4 separate regions of the Homo sapiens genome follow, and regions 1, 2 and 3 are each linked to region 4. The links are contacts of gene promoters, found by promoter capture Hi-C in blood cells and fetal thymus (Javierre and others, 2016). All regions are on one chromosome and are shown on one strand. The core of a region is centred on a gene start or on the middle of the fragment in contact, and the rest is flanking DNA. Distances in the headings are between cores, read along the strand shown. Region 1 overlaps PDCD11 (programmed cell death 11). Region 2 overlaps SH3PXD2A (SH3 and PX domains 2A). Region 3 overlaps TAF5 (TATA-box binding protein associated factor 5). Region 4 holds the start of CYP17A1 (cytochrome P450 family 17 subfamily A member 1).

What was found. The method cuts DNA at HindIII sites, captures the fragments that hold promoters and counts their contacts. A CHiCAGO score of 5 or more calls a contact.
Region 1: a contact is called between a fragment that was not itself captured here and the fragment with the promoter of CYP17A1 in region 4, in 2 of 17 cell types (erythroblasts and M2 macrophages). The highest score is 5.7, in erythroblasts.
Region 2: a fragment that was not itself captured here is called in contact with the fragment with the promoter of CYP17A1 in region 4 in 1 of 17 cell types (neutrophils); the score reaches 5.7 in neutrophils.
Region 3: a contact is called between a fragment that was not itself captured here and the fragment with the promoter of CYP17A1 in region 4, in 2 of 17 cell types (erythroblasts and M1 macrophages). The highest score is 6.0, in erythroblasts.

Annotation. Positions count from the first base shown.
Region 1 is chr10:103,409,035-103,413,425 of GRCh38, forward strand. PDCD11 (programmed cell death 11) reads left to right here. Exons shown (of 36, transcript NM_014976.2): 8 at 665-772; 9 at 4,082-4,288. Among named protein-coding and RNA genes, the nearest start is that of PDCD11, 15 kb to the left of the region's middle. The HindIII fragment of the contact is 3,483 bases long and covers 388-3,870 here.
Region 2 is chr10:103,683,936-103,688,269 of GRCh38, forward strand. All of the region lies in intron 6 of SH3PXD2A (SH3 and PX domains 2A), which reads right to left. Among named protein-coding and RNA genes, the nearest start is that of SH3PXD2A-AS1, 61 kb to the right of the region's middle. RefSeq lists enhancers at 1-55, 2,686-2,735. The HindIII fragment of the contact is 1,892 bases long and covers 377-2,268 here.
Region 3 is chr10:103,380,173-103,384,806 of GRCh38, forward strand. TAF5 (TATA-box binding protein associated factor 5) reads left to right here. Exons shown (of 11, transcript NM_006951.5): 6 at 1,549-1,669; 7 at 3,066-3,195. Among named protein-coding and RNA genes, the nearest start is that of MIR1307, 12 kb to the right of the region's middle. The HindIII fragment of the contact is 176 bases long and covers 1,643-1,818 here.
Region 4 is chr10:102,835,619-102,840,463 of GRCh38, forward strand. It overlaps CYP17A1 (cytochrome P450 family 17 subfamily A member 1), which reads right to left and starts at 1,795. Exons shown (of 8, transcript NM_000102.4): 1 at 1,447-1,795. The coding sequence starts at 1,743. RefSeq lists a promoter at 1,755-2,034. The HindIII fragment of the contact is 11,808 bases long and covers 1-4,845 here.

The DNA of each region.
Region 1 (4,391 bases), core at 879-3,378, 570 kb after region 4:
TATTTAGAATTTAATTGACATAAGAATATTTACATGATATTTAGAATTTAATTGACATTTTCAGAATTTGCACTTTTCCTGTTTTTTGATTCTGGTAACAGTTTTCCCAGAGAATAGGTTTAGTATTTTCCGGGAAGGTAAGAGAGAGGTCTTAGTTCTCTGATTTCATTCATCTCCCTCACCACTATCTTTTGAGGGGATTGTTACTTTTCGCTTTTTGGTGACTCCATAAGGGTGACTTGGCTTGCTTGTGGTCAGTATCTCCCTTTTGCAAGCCCTTTTTTTTTTAACCTTTTTTTTTTACCTTCCTATACTGGGAAAATATCTAAGTTAGTAACAATCTATTCCAGTTGTCAGGCTGGCAGTTCCCCAAGGATACATATACAAAGCTTCTTCCATTCCATGGAGGACTCCCAGAGAGTGGGAGGATTGATGTCCTCTCTTAGCTGGAAGGGAGGTGAGCCTACTAAGGAAAGAAACAGCCAGTGCAGGAATTGTTCTGCCAGTTATTTGTATAGGAAGAAAAGATTGTTAAGAGTTACCTGGGAGAGGAGAGATACACAGTTAGGGATACTATGGCATTGAGTGTTTACTGTGAGCAATGTCTCACATTCCTGGTTCTTTCAAAGAACTTTTTTTTATAACTTGTTCTGTTTATTTCTAGGTGACTCCATTTGGCCTTACGCTAAACTTCCTCACATTCTTCACGGGCGTGGTTGACTTTATGCACCTGGATCCCAAGAAAGCTGGAACATATTTCTCAAATCAGGCAGTAAGAAATGTTGAGCCTATATTTTCTTGATTCCAGTTGTGGTCCATTTGCTGTCCAGTATCACAGCTAGCTACAGGGAGGTCCTAGGACTGCATGCATACAGGTGTGCAGAGAGGAGATGAGAGGAATAATGAAAAGTGTTATGGAGGCCAGATGCAGTGGCTCATGCTTGTAATCCCAACACTTTAGGAGGTGAGGTGGGCGGATCACTTAAGGTCAGGAGTTCAAGACTAGCCTGGCCAACATGGTGAAACCCCGTCTCTACTAAAAATACAAAAATTAGCCAGGCGTGGTGGCGCATGCCTGTAGTCCCAGCTACTCAGGAAGGTGAGGCAGGAGAATCGCTTGAACCCGGGAGGCCGAGGTTGCAGTGAGCTGAGATCGTGCCACTGCACTCCAGCCTAGACAACAGAGCGAGACTCCATCTCAAAAAAAAAAAAAAAAGTGTTATGGAAGGAAAGTAAGAAACTCTCAGTGGCTGAACTGAAATTAGAGAAGGAGCAGGTGGAGAAGAAGGCAACTTTCAGTTTTTACTTCATAGTCTTCCATATAGTTTGATTTTTTTTTCCTTTGGTGGTAGTAGTATTTTTGTTTTTATAATTTAAAGTAGTTTAGAAGAATATTTAACATAGGAGAATAAGATACGTTTAAACAGCAAAAGGTGATTTTAAAAGTTGTATAGTATAGATCCAACTTTGAAAAAAATTTTAAAAAGTACCTCTGGTTAAAATACTGGAATATTAGGCAATCAGGTGTTAATAGTGATGAATTCTGGGTGATTTTTCTTTTCTTTTCTTTTTTTTTTTTTTCTTTTTTTTTTAAGACAGTGTCTTACTCTGTCACCCAGGCTGGAGTGCAGTGGCGCAAACACGGCTCACTGCAGCTTCAATCTCCTGGACTCAATTGATCTCCCACCTTAGTCCTCAGAGTAGCTAGGACCACAGATGTGTGCCACAATGCCTGGCTAGTTAAAAAAAATTTTTTTTAGGCCAGGTGTGGTGGCTCACGCCTATAATCCCAGCACTTTGGTAGGCCGAGGTGGGAGGATCACAAGGTCAGGAGTTCAAAACCAGCCTGGCCAGCATGGTGAAACCCCGTCTCTACTAAAAATAAAAAAAATTAGCCAGACCTGGTGGTGCGTGCCTGTAGTCCCAGCTACTCGGGAGACTGAGGCAGGAGAATCGCTTGAACCCAGGAGGCAGAGGTTGCAGTGAGCCGAGATTGTGCCACTGCACCCCAGCCTGAGCGACAGAGTGAGACTCTGTCTTTAAAAAAAAAAAAAAAAAAATTTTTACAGGCGAGGTCTCGCCATGTTGCCCAGACTGGTTTTGAACTCCGGGGCTCAAGGAGTCCCCCAACCTTGGCCTCCCAAAGTGCAGGGATTACAGGTGTGAGCCACAACCCTGGCTCCGCTCGTATTTAAATATTCAAATTTCCTACAATGAACATGGATATTTGGGAAGAAAATCCTAATATATGTTATTCAGAATTTTTTAGAATTCTAAAATGATTTCTTACTTTTCTTTTTTTAAATAGTAATGTGTGCTATAGATAATTTATTTATTTATTTATTTTTTGAGACAAGGTCACACACTATTGCCCAGAGTGGAGTACAATGGCACAACCACGGTTAATTGCAACCTCAACCTCCTGGGTTCAGGCGATCCTTCCACCTCAGCCTCCTGAGTAGCTGGGACTACGGATGCATGCCACCACGCCCAGCTAATTTTTGCTATGTTTTATAGAGATGGGGTCTCGCTGTGTTGCTCAGGCTGGTCTTAAACACCTGGGCTCAAATGATCCTCCTGCCTAGGCCTCCTAAAGTGCTGGGATTAGCCTCCTAAAGTGCTGGGATTATAGGCTTCAGCCACTACAACTAGCTGAGAATTTTTTTTTAAAGTGAAACTAGGATTTTCTACTACCTAGTGGTAATACTGTTAATATTTTCCTAAACCTCTTTTTAGTAATTTTTTTCACCCTATAAGCATTTGTGTATAGAGTTGAGACATTTTACATCTTTTAATGTTATGATGAGATCAGGCTTTTTCTGTTAGTTTCAGAGGAGCCTTGGATGCAGTGACACCAGTACATGGTTTCTGTTGTATTACAGATACATCAGCTCCTTGGTGTTGAGGGGACACCTAGTATATAGTTTTCTGGCCTTGAGTAAACTTTCTGGCTAATTTTTATTTATTTATTTTATTATTATTTTTTGAGACAGGGTCTCACTCTGTCACCCAGGCTGGAGTGCAGTGGCACGATCATCACTCACTGCAGCCTTGACCTCCTGGGCTCACTCAGGTGATTCTCCTGCCTCAGCCTCCCAAAGTGGTGCATGCCACCATGCTTGGCTAACTTTTTTTTTTTTTCTTGAGACTGAGTCTTACTTTGTCACCCAGGCTGGAGTGCAGTGGCACAGTGTTGGCTCACTGCAACCTCTGCCTCCCCATTTTAAGTGATTCTTGTGCCTCAGCCTCCTGAGTAGCTGGAATTACAGGTACGTACCACCATGCCCGGCTAATTTTTTTTTTTGAGACGGAGTCTTGCTCTGTCGCCCAGGCTGGAGTGCAGTGGCGTGATCTTGGCTCACTGCAGTCTCCGCCTCTTGGGTTCAAGCGATTCTCCTGCTTGAGCCTCCTGAGTAGCTGGGATTACAGGTGTGTGCCACCACACCCAGCTAATTTTTTGTATTTTTAGTAGAGACGGGGTTTCACTGTGTTAGCCAGGATGGCCTTGATCTCCTGACCTCGTGATCTGCCTGCTGCCTGCTTCGGCCTCCCAAAGAGCTGGGATTATAGGCATCAGCCACTGCTTCCAGCCTAACTTTTTTTTATTAAAACTAGAGATGAGGTTTCGCCATGTTGGCTGGGCTGTCTCAGACTCCTGATCTCAAGTGATCTGCCCACCTCAGACTCCCAAAGTGCTGGGATTACAGGCGTGAGCCATGATCCCCAGCCTATTTTTGTATTTTTTGTTGAGACAGGGTTTCACTATGTGCGCAGGCTGGTCTCTAACTCCTGAGCTCAAGTGATCCACCTGCCTTGGTGTCCCAAAGTGCTGGGATTACCAGTGTGAGCCACCCATACCTGGCTTGAGTAAGCTTTGATTTAGTCATACATAGTCCCTATGGGACATTTTGATTTTTCTGCATTCTGCTTGAGTGTGGAAGCCAGTTTGAGTACTTACATACTAAGGATGTGAGTACTCACATACCTGGTTAGCATGTGGAAAGGCTTGATGCCTGGAAGGTCTGCTCTAGGGTGCTCCTGTGTGCCTCCTCCTGCTCACCCTGCCCTTCCTTTTGTCTAGGTGAGGGCCTGCATCCTTTGCGTCCATCCTCGAACCAGAGTTGTGCACCTGAGCCTGCGCCCCATCTTCCTACAGCCTGGACGCCCACTCACCCGACTCTCTTGCCAGAACCTTGGAGCAGTGCTGGATGATGTTCCTGTCCAGGGTTTTTTCAAAAAGGCTGGGGCCACCTTTAGGCTGAAGGATGGGGTTCTGGCCTATGCCCGGGTAAGGAGGCCTCTTTGTTTGGTCAGGGATCTTATCACTGGAAGGACTTCTGGAGCACAGGGGGCCATTTCTGCTTCTTTCATTCCTTGATGCTAGTTTAAAA
Region 2 (4,334 bases), core at 73-2,572, 850 kb after region 4:
TGGGGCCAGGAGCCAACAAACTATTAAGAGAAGTGAAAGCCTCACAAAGCCTGCGCTCTGGAGGGAGGAGGCCTGCTGCCACTGCCTCGTCTCCCTCCATCTCCCTCTGCTGCTGGTTGGGCAGGGCAGGCCCAGGGAGGGCCAGAGAGCCCAGCTCTGCTAGTGCCCTGCTGAGGTATTTACCTTGCGGGGAAGGGAGGTACCAGAGACCTCACAGACCGGCTTCCTGTGCTTCAGGACAGCCCTCCTCACACTTCCACCTGACAGCCCTCCTCACACTTCCACCTGGTTCCAGGGCTTGGTGGGAGTGCTGACCAGCAGAAGACCAGGTTCTGCCCACCCCATACCCTGGGCAAGTGGCCATCCCTCTCTTAAAAGCTTCCTCTATAAAAGGAGGAGAATAGAGGAACTTTTTCAGGTAGACTAACCCTTTTTTTTTTTGAGACGGAATCTCACTCTGTCACCCAGGCTGGAGTGCAGTGGCACCATCTTGGCTCACTGCAAACTCCGCCCCCTGGGTTCAAGTGATTCTCCTGCCTCAGCCTCCCGAGTAGCTGGGATTACAGGTGCGGGCCACCACATCCGGCTAATTTTTCGTATTTTTAGTAGAGACGAGGTTTCATCATGTCGGTCTTGAACTCCTGATCTCAGGAGATCCAACTGCCTCGGTCTTCCAAAGTGCTAGGATTACAGGAGCGAGCCACCACGCCCGGCCATAGACTAACCCTTAATAGTGGCCAGAACTTATGGGCGGGTCTTGCTCTAAGCAAATTCACTTTATTAAAAACCAAACTCATAAAAAGGAAAATTAGGCTGTGTGCTGCGGTTCACACCTGTAATCCCAGCACTTTGGGAGGCCGAGGCAGGATAGTCACTTGATCCTAGGAGTTCAAGACCACCCTGGGCAACATAGCGAGACCCTGTCTCTACAAAAACTAACTGGACGTGGTGGTGCATGTCTGTAGTCCCAACTACTCAGAAGGCTGAGGTGAGAGGATTGCTTGAAGCCAGGAGGTCAAGTCTGCAGTGAGCTGTGGTTGTGCCACCACACTCCAGTCTGAACGACAGAGCCTGGGGCCCTGTCTCAAAAAAGCAAAAACAAAAACAAAAACAAAAAAAAGGCCAGTCATGGTGGTTCACACCTGTAATCCCAGCACTTTGGGAGGCCAAGGTGGGTGGATCACCTGGGGTCAGGAGTTCAAGACCAGCCTAGCCAACATGGTGAAATCCCATCTCTACTAAAAATACAAAAAATTAGCTGGGCATGGTGGCGGACGCCTATAATTCCATCTACTTGGGAGGCTGAGGCAGGAGAATCACTTGAACCCAGGAGGTGGAGGTTGCAGTGAGCTGAGATTGTGCCACTGCACTCCAGCCCAGGCAAACAGCAAAACTCTGTCTCAAAAAAAAAAAAAAAAAAAAAAAAAGAGAATCCTGTGTCTGGCTGACCTGGGGCAAGTTCCTTAACTTCCCTTTCCTGGTCTATAAAATGGGACAAGACCACCTACCCTGGTTGTTGCAGGGAGGCTCCTGGCAATGATGAGATAGTGGACACCCCACCTTCCCCCTGTCTGATTGAGGAGTCACTCCGGAGAAAGGGCAAAAGCTGAAACCAGCGCTCTCTCCTGTTTGAGACGAACCCCTCCGGTGCTGCCTCCTATTCATAGTAAAAGCTGCTTCACCCTTAGTGCTTCCTCTAGGCCAGGCACGGTGCTGGAGTTATCACTTCAGGAACTTTCACTCAATCCTCAACCCCATGAAAAAAACCTGATTATCCCTATTTTACAGGTGAAGAAATGAGCCATAGAGAAGGACTTGCCCAAGATCACACAGCAGGCAGAGCCGGGACATGAAACTAAGCATTCTGGCTCCAGAGTCCACGTTTTTAACTCAACGGAATACTCAGCAATGGCTGAGTCTACGCCCTGTCGTCCCCTCCTGGGTCTCACAGAATGGAAATAAATGTCTCAACTCAAAGACCAACTTCTCCCCTTCTTTCTTAATCTATCAATAATTAAAACGGCAATAACAAATGGCAGAGCTGGGGTTCAAACCCTGTCTTCCTGTTGCCAAAACCTAAACTGTCAACCCCAGGCAACACTGCTTCTCTGCAGTGAAACTACATTAATGCTGATCTCATGAACTCAGCTAATAATACAGTTTTATGATCACTGAGATAGAAGTGGGGCTGAGCTCACCACTTTTCCAAGGAGAAGAATAAAGTAAACAGGATTTCATGAGGAACATCAACACTTGCCTAAGAGAACAAGCTTGTAACAACACTCTTGAGCAACCTCATCTGCATGTAAACGAGCTGGAGCTTCCACAGGACTCCTGGGTTGGATGAACCCTCAGGCTCTCCTGACAACAGCCCCAGGGCCCTGACAATCCCGAGGCTCCGTGGCCACCTGTGCCCCCTAGTGGCGCATCTCAGAACTTCCCGGCTAGGTGCCCTGGCGAAATGCAGCTTTTTAGAGAACTGGGTGAGAGGCATGAGATCTTTGCAGGTCTCAAGAGAACCCCTTGCTCTGGGGAGTCTGCTCCAGCCCCACTGGGGCTCCTGGAGCAGTGCCCACCTTGGGGAAGCAACAACAGCTAACAACAACAGGCCCTTCCTACTGCCAGGCACAGCACAAAACCCCTCAAAGGGCATCACCTCCTTGAACCCTGTGCACTTTGGGGCAAGCCAGGTCGCTGCTACTATAACAACCCCATTTGACAGGTATGATGGTCAGGTGGTACACATCAACCTGGCTAAGCTACTGTCCCCAGTTATGCAATCACACACTAATTTAGGTGTTGCTGGGGAATTTTTTTTTTTTTTTTTTTTGAGACAGAGCCTCGCTCTGTTGCCCAAGCTGGAGTGCAATGGCATGATCTCGGCTCACTGCAACCTCCACCTCCTGGGTTCAAGATTCTCCCTGCCTCAGCCTCCTCAGTAGCTGGGATTACAAGCACCCGCCACCACGTCCAGCTAATTTTTTGTATTTTTAGTAGAGACGGGGTTTTGCCATGTTGGCCAGGCTGGTCTCAAACTCCTGACCTCAGGTGATCCACCTGCCTCGGTCTCCCAAAGTGCTGGGATTACAGGCATGAGCCACTGCGCCTGGTTGGGAATGTATTTTTATAGTTATTAAAGACCATGACCGGATGACTTTAAGTAAGGGAAATTATCTAAAACACTCTGGGTGGGCCTGAGTCAGTAGCTGAAAGGCCTTCAGCAGAGTGAAGGTTTCCCTGAAGACATTTCATCTGCGGACAGCAGCTCCAGCCTGGGCCTGGGGGTCCAGCCTGCCCCCTTTCATGACCTGCCATAGGATTTCAGACTTACCTAGCCAGCCCCCACAATTGTGTAAGCTAGTTCCTTACACTACATCGCTTAATATATACCTCCCACTCGTTCTGTTCCTTTAGTTGAACCCTGGCTGATACAACAGAACAGGTGAGATAATCTGTTCTCAGAGGCGAAGGGATTTGCCCAAGTCACATGACTGGCAAGTTGTCGGCCTAAGAGTGGGACCCCAGGCAACCTGATGCAGTTGTTTCCCAGCTCCCACACAAACTCTCCCTTGAGGCCCACATCCAATCATCAGAGTCTGTCCAACACCCGCAGTGCCTTGCCCCCTCCACTGCTGCCAGAGCCCACATCCTATCTCACCTGGCTAGCAGCCCCCTGCGACCTTGCACATCATAACCCATCCTGCCTAGTCAATCCCCATCATTCTATGATTGAAGCCAGATCATGTCCCTGCCTCTACTTAGAACCCCTCAGTGAATCTTCATCTCACTCGATGAAAGTCAAAATCCTTAGAATGTCCTGCAAGGCCCTACATGGTGCTGCTTCACCCTATTCCCTCCCCACTGCCAGCTACATCTCTGCTCTCACCTCTTTCCACTTTACCCTCCACTATTCTTCATCCCAGCCACAGGCCTCCCTACTGCATCATGAGCAGCCAGCACACACCGTCACCCCAGGGCCTTTGCACTTGCTGTGCCCTTGGCCTGGACTGCTCTTCCTCAGGTAACCATGTTGCTCCCTCACTTCCCTCCATCTAATAGTACATTCTTCTATATAGCTCATCACCCACAGCAGACTGCAAACTTCTCTAGGGTAGAAAGGCACGTTCCTATAGCCTCGACACCTTGCGCAGTGCTTGGCATAGTTGATGCTCAGTTAGGTCAGTCTCCCAACAAGCCACACTTAGTCCTATCCCTCTACCTTTGTGCATGTGCTCTCTCTGGATTACCAAAGCCTCCCGCTCTCTGCTCCCAAACCAGAAAAATGTCTCCTCTTTCCAGGCAATGATCCCCAATTTAAAGCCACAATGACCTTT
Region 3 (4,634 bases), core at 481-2,980, 540 kb after region 4:
AGCTGGAGTGCAGTGGCGCGATCTCAGCTCACTGCAATGTCCGCCTCCCAGGTTCATGCCATTCTTCTGCCTCAGCTTCCCCAGCAGCTGGGACTACAGGCGCATACCGCCATGCCCGGCTAATTTTTTGTATTTTTAGTAGAGATGGGGTTTCACCGTGTTAGCCAGGATGGTCTCGATCTCCTGACCTTGTGATCCGCCTGCCTCAGCCTCCCAAAGTGCTGGGATTACAGGCATGAGCCACCGCATGTGGCCCCTAAACTCTTATACAATTTAAAGACAGCATTCAGGAAGAGAGAATTGGATACTGCACAGAATAGATAGAAGTCAATGTTTAATGGCATTTGTTTCACCGATCAGAATTCTGCTAGCCTTTGAGGAGGAGCAAATTGTAGTTCATTTCTGTTGAACTTGGTTTAAGTACTTACGTAAACTTATTTATCAATTTTTTTTTTTTTTTGAGACAGAGTTTTGTGCTGTCACCTAGGGTGGAGTGCAGAGGTGAGATCTCAGCTCACTGCAACCTCTGCCTCCCGGGTTCAAACGATTCTTGTGCCTCAGCCTCGGCCTCCTGAATAGCTGGGATTACAGGCACCCTCCACCATGCCTGGCTAATTTTTGTATTTTTAGTAGAGACAGGATTTTGCCGTGTTGCCCAGGCTGGTCTTGAACTCCTGACCTCAAGTGATCTGGCCGCCTCAGCCTCCCAAAGTGCTGGGATTACAGGCGTGAGCCACCGTGCCCAGCCATATAAACCTTATTTTATTTTATTATTTTAATTTAATTTCATTTTTTGAGATGGAGTCTTGCTCTGACACCTAGGCTGGAGTGCGGTGGTGCAATTTTGGCTCACTGCAACCTCCGCCTCCCAGTTCAAGTGATTCTCCTGCCTCAGCCTCCTGAGTAGCTGGGATTATAGGCATGAGCCACCACGCCCAGCTAATTTTTGTATTTTCAGTAGAGAAGGGGTTTCACCAGGTTGACCAGGCTGGACTTGAATTCCTGAGCTCAGGCAATCCACCCGCCTCAGCCTCCTAAAGTGCTGTGATAACAGGCATGAACCCCCGCGCCCGGCCAAACTTAGTATTTTATTTTATTATTATTTTTTTTTTGAGATGGAGTCTCACTCTGTCGCCCAGGCTGGAGTGCAGTGGCACGATTTTGGCTCACTGCAACCTCTGCCTCCTGGGTTCAAGTGATTCTCTTGCGTCAGCCTCACAAGTAGATGGGATTACAGGTGCCCACCACCCTGCTTGGCTAATTTTGGTATTTTTAGTAGAGATGGGGTTTCACCATGTTGGCCAGGCTGGTCTTGAACTCCTAACCTCAGGTGATCCACCTGTCTCAGCCTCCCAAATTGTTGGGATTACAGGCATGAGCCAGTGCGCTTGGCCAATATTTTAAATCAAGAATTTTAAAAGTCTTTATATATTCCTTAAAATAGAGGATTGAGGAGATATTTAGTATAGTGTGAAAATGATTAACATTTGCTTCCTATCTCTAAATATCCTAAAATAGTATTGTTTAGTCTAACCCTTTTATTGGCAGGGTCTCACTGCAGTGGATGTCACTGATGATTCTAGTCTGATTGCTGGAGGTTTTGCAGATTCAACTGTCAGAGTGTGGTCGGTAACACCCAAAAAGCTTCGTAGTGTCAAACAAGCATCAGGTAACTGAGATGACCTTTTGGAATGTGAACTTGCCATTAGTCTATACCAATCTTGATTCCATGGAAAATACACAGGAGATTGTGTTCTTTACAGAAATTCACTTGATTTTACTTTAACTCAAGATTCTAACATTCCCAACAGTGAAAAAAGCTTTGGAGTGACTGGGGTGCTAGACTGGTTTAATTTCTTTAGGTCTCAGTTTTCTCATCTGTAGAATGAGTGAGTATTAAGCTAAAAAACTTAAAGTTAAAAATCTAACATTTTATGATTGCTTGTAAATCTTAAAAAATCTTTAAATAAGGGATGGTACTTCCTGTTTTAGTCATAAAAATGGCTAAAAAGAACAAATAAGGTCAGGATTTTATTTGAAAGTTTTTTACTTTTTGTTTTTTTGAGACAGAGTCTCGCCCTGTCACCCAGGCTAGAGTGCAATGGCGCAGTCTTGGCTCACTACAGCCTCTACCTCCCAGGTTCAAGGGATTTTCTTGTGTCAGCTCCCCAGCTCCCCAGTAGCTGGGATTACAGGTGCCCACCACCATGCCCAGGTAATTTTTGTATTTTTAGTAGAGATAGGGTTTCGCCATGTTGGCCAGGCTGGTCTCGAACTCCTGACCTCAAGTGATCCGCCTGTCTGGCCTCCCAAAGTGCTGGAATTATAGGTGGCTCACTGCAACCTCCACCTCCCTGGTTCAAGCGATTTTCCTGCCTCCACACCCGGCCTGAAATAAAGTTTTTTACTAACTATATTATTTAAATAAAACAATATATTTTAAATTATTTCAATATTTCCATAGGTTTTTTTTTTTTAATTTTAAATTTTTTTTAGATGGGGTCTCACTCTGTTGCCCAGGCTAGAATGCAGTGGTGTGATCACGGCTCACTGCAGCCTCTAATCCCTGGGCTGAAGTGATCCTCCCACTTCAGCCTCCTGAGTAGCTGAGACTACAGGTGTGTGCAACCACACTGGCTAATTTTTTATTTTTTGTAGAGACAGGGTTTCTCCATGTTGTCCAGGCTGGTCTCGAACTCCTCTGGGCTCAAGCAATCTGCCCGCCTTGGCCTACCAAAATTCTGAGACTACAGGTGTGAGCCACCATGCCTGGCCCATAGTTTTCATTTTGTGAAACACTGTGGCATAGTGGGCAAAACTGAGTTTCAGTTCTGGTTCCCACACTGAGTAGCTGTGTGCACTCTAGCAAATTATCTGTTCTGAACGTCATTTTCTTCTCTTACACGCTGAGATGATACTGCCTAATTTAGAGGGATTAGCAAAGTGCGGTTGGTATATAGGAGGAAATTTTCAAATGTTAATTCCTCTCCTGCACTGTGATATGATTACTTTAAAAGTTTTGATGAATGTACTTATAAAATATCAATATTTCTGGACCATTTTAGATCTTAGTCTTATAGACAAAGAATCAGATGATGTCTTAGAAAGAATCATGGATGAGAAAACAGCAAGTGAGTTGAAGATTTTGTATGGTCACAGTGGGCCTGTCTACGGAGCCAGCTTCAGTCCGGATAGGTAAAATACAAACAATAAAAATTAAATACTGCTATGTTATATTGAAATTATATAAAAGTTAACTACTGGAAACATTATGCAAATGCTGGGAAAATTCTGATAAAAATCTCATGGTTGTCTGACGTTCATCATCTTTTAGAATCTTGCCATTTGCTAATTCATCTTTGAATCCTGGTGTTTGTACATGGTAGCAATTTAATGTATACTCACTTTTTTTTTTTTTTTTTTGAGACAGAGTTTCGCTCTTGTTGCCCAGGTTGGAGTGCAATGGCGTGATCTTGGCTTACCGCAACCTCCGCCTCCTGGGTTCAAGCGATTCTCCTGGCTCAGCCTCCTGAGTAGCTGGGATTACAGGCATGCGCCACCACACCTGGCTAATTTTATTTTTTTATTAGAGATGGGGTTTCTCCATGTTGGTCAGGCTGGTCTTGAACTCTCAACCTCAGGTGATCTGCCCACCTCAGCCTCCCAAAGTGCTGGGATTACAGGCGTGAGCCACTGTGCCTGGCCTGTATACTCAAATTTATAGAATCAAAATGCACAGTTTCAGGGCTTACTGGTTTTAAAAATTAGCTTTAGTATTTCCCTTTTTTTTTTTTAATTATTTTTATTTGTTACCCAATGGTAAATAACCAACCAAAGCTTTAGTTTTATAGAACTCCATTAGGGGTTGAATTGCTTCATTGGGTCCCTGCATTGTGTCTTCTGGCTGCTTCATCAAATTTAAGACAAATTCCTGACATTAATGGCATATTAGCTAGTAATTGAGGATTAATCTTTCTATAATCAAAAGTACTAAGAGTAAATGAAAAAGGAAATTCAAAATTGGTTTGCTTCCCTTTAGGTGTATGATTACAATGTCATCCTATGTGTATAGGTATTTGCCTATTTTTCATGATCTCTAACACTGTAAAAATGGGTGGAGGGTGTTTTGTATTCATAATACCATCAGTATATTACTTGGATAGATAATAGCTTTCAGGCCGGGCACAGTGGCTCACGCCTATAATCCCAGCACTTTGGGAGTCCAAGACAGGCGCATCACCTGAGATCAGGAGTTTGAGACCAGCCTGGCCAACATGGGAAATCCTGTCTCCACTAAAAAGTACAAAAATTAGCAGGGTGTGGTGGCGCCCACCTGTAATCCTGGCTACTTGGGAGGCCGAGGCAGGAAAGTCACTTGAACATGGGAGGCAGAGGTTGCAATGAGCCGAGATTGCACCACTGCACTCCAGCCTGGGTGATAAGAGCAAAACTCCATCTCAAAAAAAGAAGAAAAGAAAAAAAGATAATAGCTTTCCATCCATCAAGGTTTCATCATTACGAAACTTTGAGAATTAGGTTTTTTGTTGCTTGATAAGGTTTTGCCAGATGATACATTTTTGAGGGAAACGTCTGATTTCAGTGAAAATTGTAATAACCTTCTGACTATCAATCTT
Region 4 (4,845 bases), core at 545-3,044:
GAAAGAAAGAACCCTTAATTAGAATGCAGCAGCATTGGGGTTCTTTTCGCTGACAGGGTGCCCTCTGGGCTTCTTTTTGCTCATCAGTTTCTGACCACAGGAAGGCAACTCTGGATGGGATAAACTCTCTAAACTATGCCTGTCCAGAGGGTAGGGAGCAGGTGAGCTTGTAGAGGCTGAGGACTGCACAGATCTCTGCTTTTCCCTGAGCCCTTAGCTGAGCTAAAGGCACAGCTCACCTCACTCAGGTTTACCCTTCCATTGCAAGCCTGCATACCCAGCCACAAGCCCACATTTGGAGAGTGCAGATGTTTTGTCTACCCAGTCTGGACTTGGGCCGAGCCGCCTCCTCCTAGAGGTGCCCCCCAAAGCAAAAGGGTCCAAAGCCTCCCTTTTCCATTTCCTGACCCTGAAGATCCACATGACTAGCCTTCTCCATCTTCTCTGCCCCCGGGAGGAAGCCAGCAGAGGTGGGAGCTAGGTAGTTGGTCAGCAGACCTGGCTGATTGGTCCAAGAAAAAATAAACCAACCCTTGGCTTGATCAAAGCTGAGAGGCTGGCAGGGCACAGTGGCTTACGCCTATAATCCTAGCACTTTGGGAGGCTAAGGTGGGAGGATCACGAGGTCAGGAGATCGAGACCATCCTGGCTAACATGGTGAAACACCATCTCTACTAAAAATACAAAAAATTAGCGGGCATGGTGGCATGCTCCTGTAGTCCCAGGTACTCAGGAGGCTGAGGCAGGAGAATCACTTGAACCCGGGAGGCAGAGGTTGCAGTGAGCTGAGATTGGCCACTGCACTCCAGGCTGGGCGACAGAGAGAGACTCTGTCTCAAAAAAAAAAAAAAAAAAAAAAAATGCTGAGAGGCTGGGGGCCCTGCTGAGTGGGAGGCTCATCAGCAACCCTGAAATGTCATTGTAGAAAACTGCCCCTGTGAGCCTGAGTAGCTGGAAATAGCACCAGGAAAGCAGCAATCCCAGCCTGCAATAGCTAGGCTAATTCTCCCCAGCAGCTTTCATGGAGGACAGTAGTCACTGCCCCCATTTTCCATGAAAAGTAACATGAATCCTGGCTGTATAAGGGGCACTTACTGTGCTGGGTGCTAGGCTAAGTGCTGTACATGCACCTTCTCAGTCCATTAGAGAAGTCTAGGCTCAGAGAGAGGAGTGGAGTGAGGATTCCTTGACCCCTCAGACCACTGTGGTCCTCCCATCCCACCTCCTGGGCAGCCTGGTAGAGGAGACATTCCTTTAATTCTTCCTGCCTAATTTAGAGGCTGGGTGGGGGTCTGAAGGTTCACTCCCTTCACATCATCCCACTAGTCTACTTTGGGAAGAATTACAGGTTGTTGGAGCTGGAAGCCCCATTCTAGGCATGGTCTGAAGACCTGAACAATCCCAGGGGGTGGTGAAGGGGGCAGGGAGGAGATGGGCACCACTTACCATTTGAGGCCGCCCAGAGAAGTCCTTGCCCTTCTTAATAAGCACCTCCTTGGCCAGCTGGTGGTGGCCGACAATCACTGTAGTCTTGGTGCCCATACGAACCGAATAGATGGGGCCATATTTTTTCTGCAGCTTGAAGAAGTTGTTATGCATATGGCCGTGTCTGGGGAGGAATGGCAGGCTGCCCACCAGGGGCAGGGACAGGAGGCTCTTGGGGTACTTGGCACCAGGGCACCTTCTCTTGGGCCAAAACAAATAAGCTAGGGTAAGCAGCAAGAGAGCCACGAGCTCCCACATGGTGGCTGGGTGCCGGCAGGCAAGATAGACAGCAGTGGAGTAGAAGAGCTGTGGCAACTCTAGGGCACAAGGAGGCCTTTTAAAGGGCTACCCTGATCTTCACCTTGACTTTGTGTTATCTCTTGCCTTGTGGAAAGATTCTCCTGGAGCCCAGCCAGGCCTGAGCTCATATCCAGAAGGGAGAGAGGCGGTGGGAGTGAAGGCCTCCTCAAGGGCTGGCTCAACTCCAGGGCAAACCTCCGGAGGAGGAGCTAGGTAAGGGAGGTCAGTTGATCACCCTCTGAGGAGCTCCCCATGCTTGAATGACTCCAGAGTGCGAATGGTATCTGGGCTCAGGAGTCAAGGCTTGGAACTTTCCATGTTGCAAAATCAAAATCACTGGACAGATGACAGATTCAGGAGGGTCACAAGTAGCAGGGACTGTTAAAGGTCTTTTATGCTTCTTTTTTTTTTTTTCAGAGTCTTGCTCCATCACCAGGCTGGTGTGCAGTGGTGTGACTGTCCATGCAGCCCTGGCCCTCCAGCCCATGTGGTTTTGGCAGCGATAAGGGCTGTGGGTTAATGGTCCCCAAAATAAAAATGTACATGTGTATGGGAACGAAAGGGGTGCTAAGCTGTGGGGAGCGGTGGAAGGGAAGGGAGAGATAGGTCAGTACTAGGAATGCCAGAGGTGGGAGGCCGTTTCATAACATTTCTTGTTGATCAAAATGCCATCAACACCTTCTTTGCTCATCAGCAGGACTAGCGTACTGGGGGAACCCACCCCCAATATTTCAACGTAGGTTCTTTCTATAAGTGTCAGCCGGCTGAGAAATAAAGAGAGACAGTATAAAGAGAGGAATTTTACAGCTGGGCCGCCGGGGGTGGCATCACATATCGGTAGGACTGTGATACCCACCTGAGCCTCAAACCAGCAAGTTTTTATTAAGGGTTTCAAAAAGGGGAGGGGGTGTAAGAACAGGGAGTAGGTACAAAGATCACATGCTTCAAAGGGCGAAAAGCAGAACTACTAATAAGTGTCTAACAAAGATCACATGCTTCTGAGGGAAAGGACAAAGGGCAAAAGCAGAACTACCGATAAGGGTCCAACAAAGATCACAAGGCAAAGGGCAAAAGCAGAACCACTGATAAGGGTCCAACAAAGATCACAAGGCAAAGGGCAAAAGCAGAACTACAGATGAGGGTCTATGTTCAGCGGTGCACATACTGTCTTGATAAACACCTTAAACAACAGCAAACAGGGTTCGACAGCAGAGAACCGGTCTGACCACAAATTTACCAGGGCGGAGTTTTTCCCCACCCTAGTAAGCCTGAGGGTACTGCAGGAGACCAGGGCGTATCTCAGTCCTTATCTCAACTGCACAAGATAGACATTCCCAGAGCGGCTGTTTATAGACCTCCCCCCAGGAATGCATTCCTTTCCCAGGGTATTAATAATAATACTCCTTGCTAGGAAAAGAATTTAGTGATATCTTCCCTACTTGCATGTCCATTTATAGCCTCTCTCAAGAAGGAAAATATGGCTCTTTCTGCCCGACCCTGCAGGCAGTCAGACCTTATGGTTGTTTTCCCTTGTTCCCTAAAAATTGCTCTTATTCTGTTCTTTTTCAAGGTGCACTAATTTCATATTGTTCAAACACATGTCTTACAATCAATTTGTACAGTTAACACAATTATCACAGTGGTCCTGAAGTGACAAACATCCTCAGCTTACAAAGATAACAGGATTAAGAGATTAAAGTAAAGACAGGCATAAGAAATTATAAAAGTATTATTTGGGAACTGATAAATGTCCATATTAAAATGAAATCTTCACAATTTATGTTCCTCTGCCATGGCTCCAGCCAGTCCCTCCATTCAGGGTCCCTGACTTCCCGCAACATCTCTCCCTTTCTTTTTATATAAATGTGCCGTGGCGATGAAGGCTTGCTCGTTCTCTCGGTTTTGATGCAGGATTCTTTGACTGGTCTGGCACACTAAAAACAAGCCGATTAAACAGAGAAACATGATTCCAAAATTTCCTACAGTGGAGCCCCCAGTAGACTTAATCCAAGTTGTGGAGTTTAGTCCAGAAAGACTTTCTGCCACCTGATCTAACGCCTCAGCTCCAGGCACAATGGATAAATGAGCTTGAGAGGCTTCAAAAATTTGTTTCTTTAATTTAGTTATGTCCAAGGATAAATTATCTTCCCTACCCAGAAGGTGTCCTTTGACCATTTCCCATGATCAGTCTCGTTGTAGGAATATGGTGTGCTATAGAAATCAGAAGTGTTGCAATCGAACTGCATTTGCATGTGATGTTCGAGACTCATTAGCTGGTCCCCAAGCCAAATAACAGACTGTCTTAAATCATTAGCTAATTTTTGATCAATGCCTTGTTGAGGATTCCACATTTGGGTGGAATTGCCTTACCAATCATTAACAAAATTAGCCATTTGAATAGATTGGTGTAATGCCACTCCGGCAGTGGTGGCCAGTGCAGTGACTGTAATTAGGCCCATGATCACAGTGATTAAAGTGAAAACAAATCTCTTGATCTTTTGAGAATTCGTTGTAACACTTCATTAATTAAATGTACTGAGGGGGAAGATTCCCAAGTTCTGGGTAAAGTTACTGGTATCCAGATTCCTTCTCAAGCTCGAACCAACATTACACTTTTCCTGAGTCAAAACGGGAGTTAACACAAGTGGATAAATGACAATTAATGCATTGGACGGTTTGATTGTTCATCCAAATTTTGATATTTCCCACTAACAGCATGTAAGGAGGCTTAACACAACTCTGTATAATAGTCAGGCTGGAGGTAAACAAAGCAGAATGTTTGAATCTACGTTGATACCGAGGGGGAGGAGTGGCGGTGGCAACGCCCAATGTTTGATGCCGTAAAGAAGCAATCCGAGGTGCCCGGGGATTCTGAAGAGGTAGGGGGACATACCTGGGTCCAGAAGAATTATCATAATGCCAATCAGAGTCCCATAAAGGAGGACTGGCATCAAAAAGAGGAAAATGGTCCAAAGGGGATTTATCATGGGTTTCAGAATCACGGATGTGAGGGGTGGTAGTGGGGACAACAGAAAGAAAAGTTTCCCCTTCCCATACTCG